Regions from separate parts of the Homo sapiens genome. Here region 2 is linked to region 1. The links are contacts of gene promoters, found by promoter capture Hi-C in blood cells and fetal thymus (Javierre and others, 2016). All regions are on one chromosome and are shown on one strand. The core of a region is centred on a gene start or on the middle of the fragment in contact, and the rest is flanking DNA. Distances in the headings are between cores, read along the strand shown. Region 1 holds the start of HAPSTR1 (HUWE1 associated protein modifying stress responses). Region 2 holds the start of LOC105371093 (a long non-coding RNA gene).

What was found. Contacts are between HindIII fragments. The CHiCAGO score rates a contact against its expected background, and 5 or more counts as called.
Region 2: a fragment that was not itself captured here is called in contact with the fragment with the promoter of HAPSTR1 in region 1 in 1 of 17 cell types (naive CD8 T cells); the score reaches 6.6 in naive CD8 T cells.

The regions. Positions count from the first base shown.
Region 1 is chr16:9,089,633-9,094,327 of GRCh38, reverse strand. It overlaps HAPSTR1 (HUWE1 associated protein modifying stress responses), which reads right to left and starts at 2,684. Exons shown (of 4, transcript NM_014117.3): 1 at 2,058-2,684; 2 at 1,327-1,407. The coding sequence starts at 2,283. RefSeq lists enhancers at 1,215-1,384, 3,654-4,519 and silencers at 1,535-2,034, 2,245-2,584, 2,755-2,824, 3,613-3,743. The HindIII fragment of the contact is 14,700 bases long and covers 788-4,695 here.
Region 2 is chr16:13,923,189-13,927,883 of GRCh38, reverse strand. It overlaps ERCC4 (ERCC excision repair 4, endonuclease catalytic subunit), which reads right to left. Exons shown (of 11, transcript NM_005236.3): 3 at 1,128-1,323. It overlaps LOC105371093 (a long non-coding RNA gene), which reads left to right and starts at 1,278. Exons shown (of 4, transcript XR_007065000.1): 1 at 1,278-1,359. The HindIII fragment of the contact is 2,829 bases long and covers 1,227-4,055 here.

The DNA.
Region 1 (4,695 bases), core at 1,435-3,934:
TTTACTCAGTCACAATTTAACAAACAGCTATATAAAATCAAAGCTAACCACTGAGGCACTATTTAACCATGTTTCCCTTTTTTCAGTAAGACTGGACTATTATTATTACAGTTCCTCATTCCCTAAAGTTAGCGTTTCTTTTCACCACTTTGTTACCAGTTCTCAAATTACTGTCCCAAAAAACTGTAGTCTACTCAAGAAATCTCACAAGGAGATATTTTTTCCTACAAGATGCTGCGGCCATTTGCACATTCTTATGCAAAAATTAACAACTTGACAGTCAAGCAGCACCTTCATAGCCCGTTTCAACCTATATATGGCCTAAATATATATGGCAAAAATACCAATATTGGTATTTTTGAAATGCACAAAGTTCCATTACTGTTCTGAGCAACTTTTAAAAGTCTGAAAACATTTAATTACATATTTCTTAAGATTAACAAAGTCAAATCCTTTTTCCATAAAAATCTTGCCAAAAAAAAAAATCAACCCCAAATTTCTCAATCTTCAAAACCAGTAAGGCACAAAATCTAAACCCACCGTTACCAAGAATGCACAAATGGGCAAGAACGTTTACTTACACATCTTCATGTCATCACAAAGGGAGGGGGATTAACTCCAGAAAGGAACCACCATAAAACAAACCTATGGACTCAAAACTCTCAACAGAATTCCTGCCAGCAACTTATAATCAAATATAGGATCCTTTTAACAGAAAACACTTGATCAAATTGCTAGAGAAGAGCAGCACGTTAACATGCGCGCAGATGACTCCGATTAGCAAGCTTTCAAGCACTTCAAAACTATATAGACTGCCACGCTTTCAAATGCCTAACTCAAGAATCTTTTCCATAAAGTTCGTCCCACTTCCGACTGTAGTACAAAAAACATCAACTCTTATCTTCCCTCAATGTCTTTTCCAGAGGGAGGCAAGGCTCAGCCGTCTTCCAGCTCAACGCTTCTCAACCTGAGCACTACTGACTTTAGGGGCATGATAATTCTTCGCTGAGAGGGGGCCGGGGCGGTTATCTTGGGCACTGCAGGACCTTCAGCAGCCTCTATACACTGGGTGCCCAACAACAGCCCCTTCTAGGAGAAGCCAACCAAAAACGTCCCCAGGCGTTGCCATCTGTCCCGGGGGGCGGAGGGAGGTGTCAAAATCGCCTCCGGTGGATCTAGCTAGAGCACCGCCGCGATTCTCAAGTTGCAAGGTATTCAAGGTTAGCAGCTGGGCTGGGGAGCAGAAAACACACTTGGAACGCAGGGCAGACACCCTGACGCAGGCGGCCCTTCCCTGAATCGGCAATGCAGCAAGGTTATCTTTACCTTTGTAGAGATTGGTGACGGCGGTGGCTGCGTTTTGGAAGGGGACCCAGAGAGAAAGTCCTGGCTGCTGACACACTCGGTCTGAAAAGCAAGCCAAAAAAAAAAAAAACCAAAAAGAAAAAAGAAACACACATAGAAAGAGAAAGAAAGAGAACAAGAATGTTATTTGCGCGTCAATCACTCCGGAACGGCCATATTAGGTTTCGCCATTTTGTTCAGGGGTTTCGGGATCCCAAACCCAGTGTGAGGACCGGGGGGGCAGGGAGGTCGCGGCGGGGAAAAGGGGATGCCGCAGAGCTCAGGGGCACAGATCAGGGACGAGCCGCGGCGCAGGGAAGCGCCCCCCCTGGCAGTCCCCGCCCCGAGGCCGGCTCAGGGCACAATGGGGCCGCCCCGCCGTCTCCCTTCGCCATTTTGTGACGGGGGCTCCTCCTCTCCCGTCTCCGGGCCGAGGGGGACACCGGGTGGCCGGGCCCGGAGAGCGGGGACCCTCGGACCACCCCAAAGCGGGGCTACCCCCACGCCGGCTCTGGCCTGTCCCCCCAACCCCGGGCCTCCCTCCCGCGGCGCCATCTTGCGGGGAGGGGGCGGCAGGGCCGCGGAGCCACCGGCCGGGATCCCCGAGGCCGCCGCCGTCGCGGCCCCCCGAAGCGGCCGCTGAGCCGATAGGGCCGGGGCCGGGCCCGGGCGGGGGCGGCCAAGCGGTACCAAGATGGCGGCGGCGGCCTCACCTTTGTAGAGCTGGGCCACGGCGGTGGCCGAGTTCTGGAAGAGGTGCCACAGCTTCTGCTGCTTGTGCTCGGGCTGCGCGGCGGCCGCCGCCTCCTCCTGCAGCTCGGGGGGCAGCTGCTCGTCCTGTTCGGCCTCGGCCAGGCACTGCCGCTCCCACTTGGAGAACCAGTGCTCGGGCCCGTGCTCCTGGATCTCGGCCTCGCCCTCCTCCTTCCGCTCCTCCATCCTCCGCGGCCTCCCGCGGCCTCGCCGCCACCGCCGCCGCGTCCTCCTCAGGCGGGGCCCCCGCGGGAGCGTCGTCGTCAAGCGGCCCGGCGGCAGGGCCTGGCGACCGACGGCGCCTTCTCCTTTCAGCGGCCCAGGCCTCCTGCACCCCGACGGCCGGCGAGCCCCGCCCCGCGGCCCCGTGCAACCAGGGACGACCCCCGCCCCAGGCCTTCCCACCCCCGGGCCCGGCCGAAGGTCGCCGCGGACCAGATAACCGCTGCCGCCCCTCGCCTCGGCCGCCGCAGCCTGTCTAACGCCCCCCCATGGCGCTGCGGCCTCCCCACTGCCGCCGCCGCCGCTGATCGCCGAGCCCTCCGCGCAGCTCGGCCTGCACCGCGGAGCCCACCCCAAGACTGAGCAACGTCGTCGTCGTCGCCACCGCCGAGGACGGCTCTGCGGCTGCTGGTCCCCGCCCTACCCCGCCCACATGCTGACAGGAGAAGCACCGCCCACTGGGCCCAAGCTACCCTGCCCGGTTGAGGCGTGGCCGCTCCAAGGGCCCCTATTAGTCGGATCCGGCCGGTTCCGCGTGGCGGCTTCTGAGCACAGCGTCGTGATTGGTTCTTCGGCCTGTCTGCCTGACGTAACCAATTGGCTGGGGGAAGGGAGTGAATGTCAGGAAGGATGAAGGAGGAGGAGGGGGAGGAGCTGACAGTGGTTGCGTCCGAGCCAAGGGGGCGGGTGGGGGGTGGAGGGGAAGAGCTAGAAGGGATGCGCATGCGCACTTGCTCGCTGCTCCCCCCCCCGCTCAGGGGCGTTGAGTGGGGATCACGTGACGAGGCCCAGCGACCGCACCCCGCGGGAGCTTTTCCGGCGTGTACAGGCCCTGGGGGGATGCAAAGTCGAGTGCGGCTCCTGTGCCGCGGGCACTGAGAGGTATAGTGGGTGGTAGCGTGCTTACTCCAGCCCCTGGGGCTCCCAAAGGGAGGAGGGTAGTAGAGAAAGTGAATAAAACGCCCAACTCGTGTCCAAGTTTGCAAAGCGCTTTCCTATTCTTTTGAGTACTCCCCCTTTTTTTTTTTTTTTTTTGAGACGGGGTCTTGCTACGTTGTCGAGGTCTAGACTGCTGGCCTCAGGCGATCTTCCAGCCTCCCAGGGCGCTGGGATTACAGGCTTGAGCCACCGCGCCCGGCCCAGAGTCCCATTTCTTAGACGGGCAAATCGACCATCACAGCCAAAGAAAAACTTCCGAGTTGCGAAGTCGGCTCAGTTGCCCCTGCGCCCTGGCGTCCCCCGAGGACGTCGCGCCTTCCGGGTGGACAGGACCTCGGCGGCCGCCCGCGGAGCCAAGGATAACCCGACGGCCGACGGTGCCCGGTGCCCGCACGCGTGCGTCTGCGCCTTTGCGCGCGCGGCGGCCCCCGCACCTGTCCCGAAAAGCACACTCCCAGGCCACGTGCATGCCCCGCGTCACGTACCGGCCCCTGCCTTCCCCGGCCCGAACCCGCGTGGCGGTGCCGAGCGCTGCGCCCGCCCCTACTCCCCCCGCAGTGCGCGATAGCTGGACGCCCCTGCGGCTGCGCGCCCCCCTCCCCTGTCGGGGCTTTCTCCAGGGTCTGAGGCCCCGGAGAAGGCAGCAACGCAGACAGGCGGTGACCGCACAGAGGCAAAACCCACCATCCCCACCTACATGCCCACGGGAGGCACCATCCGGCCTGGAGCGGCGGAGGGCGCCGGCCAGAGGCAGCGTCGCCCGCAGCCTGCGATAGTGCGCTTGCACAGAGCAAGGCGGCTTTGGAAGAAAATCTGACCCCCTCACCGCGGCCTGCAAACCCCTGCAGGATCTGGCCCTGGCGCCTCTCACACAATCCCCTACTTGGCTTGTACCTTGCGCACTCCCCCTCTTCCCCACCTCGCCTGGACGCTCACACACTGGCCTGCCTTATTTCCCTGGGACACTAGGCTCTTTCCTGCCCCAGTCTGCTATCTCTGGAAGCTCTTCCTCCTCCTCTTTCCTCAGATAGCTCCTGTTTAGGAAGCCTACTAGGACAAGCCTAAAGTAGCACCCTTCACACTGTCTCGTATTGCCTGGTTATATTATTTCATAACATCAATCACTATCTAAAATGCTAAATTAGGCCTGGCGCGGTGGCTAAAAAACAGGTTTCCAATTGTAGGGAAGAATATAAAGTGAAAAGCAAACAAAAATCATTCTACCTACCTCATTCTACATCCTCCCAATCCTATTCCCAGGAAATAACTTGTGACCTTTGAAAACGGAGTTATGTGTACGTCGAGTGTGTATGTGTGTGTGTACCTATATACAAGTATGTCCCTTCTTAAGGAAAAAAAAAGATGATTTTATGTGTACTATCCTACAAGCCTTTTTTCCTTAACATAATTTGGATGTCTCCACATTGGGACCTAAAG
Region 2 (4,695 bases), core at 1,392-3,891, 4.8 Mb before region 1:
TTTTCAAAAACACTTTGAACCTCAATGAATAGAAGCAGTGTATTATTCAGATAAGGAAAGGGTCAGCAAACTACGGTCTGGGCCAAATCCTGTACCTGTTTCTATAGTCTCACTGGAATGCAGTCACACCATTACTTATGTAAGCAGTCTATACTTGTTTTTGGGCAATAACAGAGTTGAGTAATTGTGACAGTCTATATGGCCTGCAAAGCCCAAAATATTTACTACCTGGCCATTTACATGAAGAGTTTGTTGACTCCTAAAACAAGGTATAATCAAGAAAGTTAAAAATACTATAACTACTCTTTTTTTTTTTTTTTTTTTTTGAGATGGAGTTTCGCTCGTTGCCCAGGCTGGAGTGCAATGGTGCGATCTCAGCTCACTGCAACCTCTGCCTCCTGGGTTCAAGTGATTCTCCTGCCTCAGCCTCCCAAGTAGCTGGGACTACAGGCATGTGCCAACACGCCTGGCTAATTTTTGTATTTATAGTAGAGACAGGGTTTCACCATGTTGACCAGGCTGGTCTCGAACTCCTGACCTCAGGTGATCCGCCTGCCTTGGCCTCCCAAAGCGCTGGGATTACAGGCGTAAGCCACTGCACCCGGTGTACAACTACTCTCAAAATAACATATATTATAACCAAAATACATGGTAGCATAGGTTGCAAAAATGTTTGAAAACTGAAACCTTAATGTTATTCCTAGAAATTAATAAAACTTCTTCAAAACCTTTGTGCTTTATTTCCCTGTTGAGTAATTTTCAAAGCAGAAGTGGTAATGTTAGCCAATAAATCTGCTGTACACCTAAAGCTGTTGTATATGTGGGTCTCTAGATCCCTGGGAGTTTCCCTAAATGTGTAAGAAAGAATAAAGTGGCTGTCTTGGATGGATGTGATGGACCAGCAGAAAAGCAACCATCAAATTGCTCTCGACTTAAATAAAACCACAAACTTGGTGAATACATATTTATAGCTGGATGTGTTTGTTATAAAACTGACTAGGTTCTATCAAACAAAATTACAATGAATTTTACATTATATTACATCAAAGTGCAACTAAGTTACAGTAGATCTCACAAACAAAGATGACAAATAATGTCATCATTATTTGTCACATAATGTTCTTTACCTTGGCCACAGATACAGTTTCCTCACAAAAAGATTTCTCATCACTCTTTCCACATGACAAAAACCAGTATCAAAGGCAACAGCATTGTCTGTGAAAGCTTTAATAAAACCACGTTTGTTTTTCTGGCGAAAGAGGCGCAAGATGAATGCTTCTTGACAAGACTCGATTATTCTGTGGGCTCTATACACCAAGATGCCTGAGGGGGAGAAACATAATTTAAACTACAGAACAGGTAGGTAATTGCCATTCATTCATCACATTTTTCTTAAGTACTTACAAGAGAATGAATAAGCACCATTCTAGACTGGGCATATAGCCACGCACAGAACAGAGATAAATCCCTGTCCTCAAGGAATTGACTATAAACAATATAAATACGTAAAATATTTAGGATGCTACAAGTGCTGAGAAGAAAAAATGAATCAGAGAAGGAGGAGAGGGAGTATGTATGAGGGGTGGTCTCACCAAGGTGGTATCTGAATAAAGGCTGGATGGAGCCTTGTGACCATCTGGGCCAAGAGAGTTCCAGGCTGCCAGGCTGAGGGGACAGTGAGGGCACAGGCCCTGGGGTGGGGTGTTTCTGGCATGTCAGAGGAAGAATTTCTGAAAGCAAAGTAGGTCATGAATTTTTTTTTTTTAATGTATGAATCAGATGTGGACTATACAAAATAGCCACATTTTAGAAGTCTGGGCAACATCTACATTACCTATGAGATGAATTCAATTTTCAGAATCAGAAGATAGTCAATTCAGAGGTAAATTAGTCCATTTAAAACAAAAACCTTCAATCGACATACTTATACATGTCTTTGGGGGTGTACATGATTATAACACCTCAGCATCTCAAAAATAAGAACAATTATACATGCTTTGTTATTTATGAAATGAGACTACTGACCCAGATCTTTCATATATATTGTGTCATCTGATGCAGTGTGATTAGTGCTAAGTTAGGGAGAAACATGAGATGACATAAAGGCATACAGACATGCTTTCTAGATCAAAACCACAATTACTCCAAGACGAGTCTGTCTTTTAGACCTAAATCAAGCTGGTTACCTTATATATATTTGGCATAATGGTACTTGCATGCTTTTGATCCAGTTCTCATATCTGGAAGGGTATGGACAATAATACTAACAGTGATTTATGACCCTTCTAATAGTTCAATAAACTAAACTCAGATTTTACTATTTTAATGTTTAAGTTTTGGATAGAGGTGGATGGAGCTAAATTTACTCTAGCTCAGCAAATTATCTTCCAAATATAGTAAAAATTAATAATGTTATTTAGGAATTCATAGACAAAGGATTTTCAATAACCCCCCCAATACACGTACATAACTAATTTACTACTCAGAAAATATTCTGTACCTAATTGGTGGGTTTTCCCAAGGACTCTAAGAGGCCACATTTTGTTAGCCTGGATTGAAATATTACGTAGAGTCAAGAATAATAAAAATGAACTTCCAAAGAAAAGGAGAAACTCAATTTAAGAAAATGTTGCGCTCCAAAAAGTTGTCTTTATTTTGGTTGGAACCCAGGAGGAAGAAGAGAACTGATACTACATCCCAGGTAACTGGGTTAGGTGTTTCTATAGATTTTCATTTCATTTAATTGTTATGATAATTCCATGCAGTAGGTATCATGATGAGACCAAGGAAGGGAAGCAACTTAACCAAGGTCATCCAGCAAGCAAGTGGGAGGCCGAAGGTTCCAAATCATGTGTAAAATCATGTTATTCCTATTTAGTCACACCAACTCAAGACACTCCTTTTTCAAAAAATAAAAATAATAGAAGCAGGTTAGGTTTTTGGGAGGAGTTTTAGCTCCACAAAAGCCTACTTTAGTTTTTTTTGTTCCTATGACATTTTGTACCCATACTGTACTATAACTACTTCTTTACTTGTCTCCTCCATTAAACTGCCCGAGAACAGGAACATCGTAACACCAACAGGCAGAGATCACAGAGATCATAGAATGCTGACTATGTGCCATGCTACCAAGTATTTTACATATAAGCATTTCATTTCACCCTGACAATCCTAGGAGGAAGGTACTATCTTTATCACCAATGTACGGGTGAGTAAGCTGAGGCATAGAGAAATTAAGAAACTTGCCTAAAAATACACAGCTGGTGCAAGATGAAGATAACTCAAACCCAGAAGCAGTCTAACTCACGAGTTCACCATACTGTCCCATTCATCTGTCTATCTTCAGCACCCTTCCTGCCAAACAAGGGACCCTTAGTGAGTTAAATATTTGTTGAATGAATATAAAGTGGAGGCACAGCACTGGGTACACAAATCAAAAGTGTAACTGAAAAATACATATATATTTCCCAGAAAGTGTGTTCTTAGTTCTGTCTGGAGATGTCAGGGTCAGTTTTGGCAATGAAAGCATCCTCCTGTCCTGTTCTTTTCAAGGTACAACCTCACCAGATATTTATATAGTTCTCCCACGTGTTAGGAGTTCTGGTTAGCAGGGATTCCCAGGGTGGGGTGTGGTGGTAATAATGGGTGGTGACAGGTGAAGAAGTTGGGGCTGGGGGATTCAGCCTTTCCAGAGGGTTACCTGCACTTCACGCACTGCTCTTTGGTCAGTCCTGGGGGATGATCCCAGGGGATGAAAGAATTCAAAAGAATTCATTTTTGGCATTCATTTACATTCCACTCAGCCAAGCATCAGTAACAGCTCCAGCTTCATTATTCGGTGGGCTTTGATCAGAAAGGAGGAGGGAATTTGGCATTTTTCATTAGGAGCTACAGATAAGCCAGACTTCAACGTTGCATAAATTCACATTGCTCTCTGCCTAATTAGGTTGCACTGTAACTGAAAGTCACAGGATATTACTGACACCTAGTGGTAGTTTTAAACACAACAAAAAAATTTTTTTAAATCAATTTAAAAAATAAAGTAAAACCAAGCTTATAAGAAAGCAGCAAACAGTAAAAGACTGGTGTATCAAGATTTCTGGTTACAAAAGGCCAATTTTATTTGGTATGAATTACTAAGAGTTTGTTGTGTACCAGGCACTATACTAAGAAATTATTTTATTAACTTAATCCTTATAATAACTTCAGGAAGCACTGTTTTCTTAATGAGAAAACTGGGGTTAATGAAAATTAAGGAGTTTGCTTTGTAAGCAGGGTGTTAGCATTCAAAACCAGGTGAGCCTATGATACTGTTTATAACAATTATAAAAGTTATAAAAGAGTAACCAAACTTCTTCAGTCGGTTTACCATTGAAGCATTCATTGACACATTTATTTATCAAATTTTTCTTGAGGGTCATCTAGGTTCAGGGCAACATGACAGATACAGTGGGAATAAGATTATGAATTTCAGAGTCTCTCTGCCTCCAGAAGTTCACTAACGATCACAGTACTATATCCATCCATCATTCACCCAACAAATACGTCTTTAGTGCCTACCATGTACCAGTTATTTAGCCTGGGATGAACAACTTGTTCCTTGTGCTTCAGCTTATCTTGTGAGTGAGATAGACAAACACATAAATATAATGTAGTGTTGTGAGCACTATGACTGGGGAGAAATACAGGGTAATA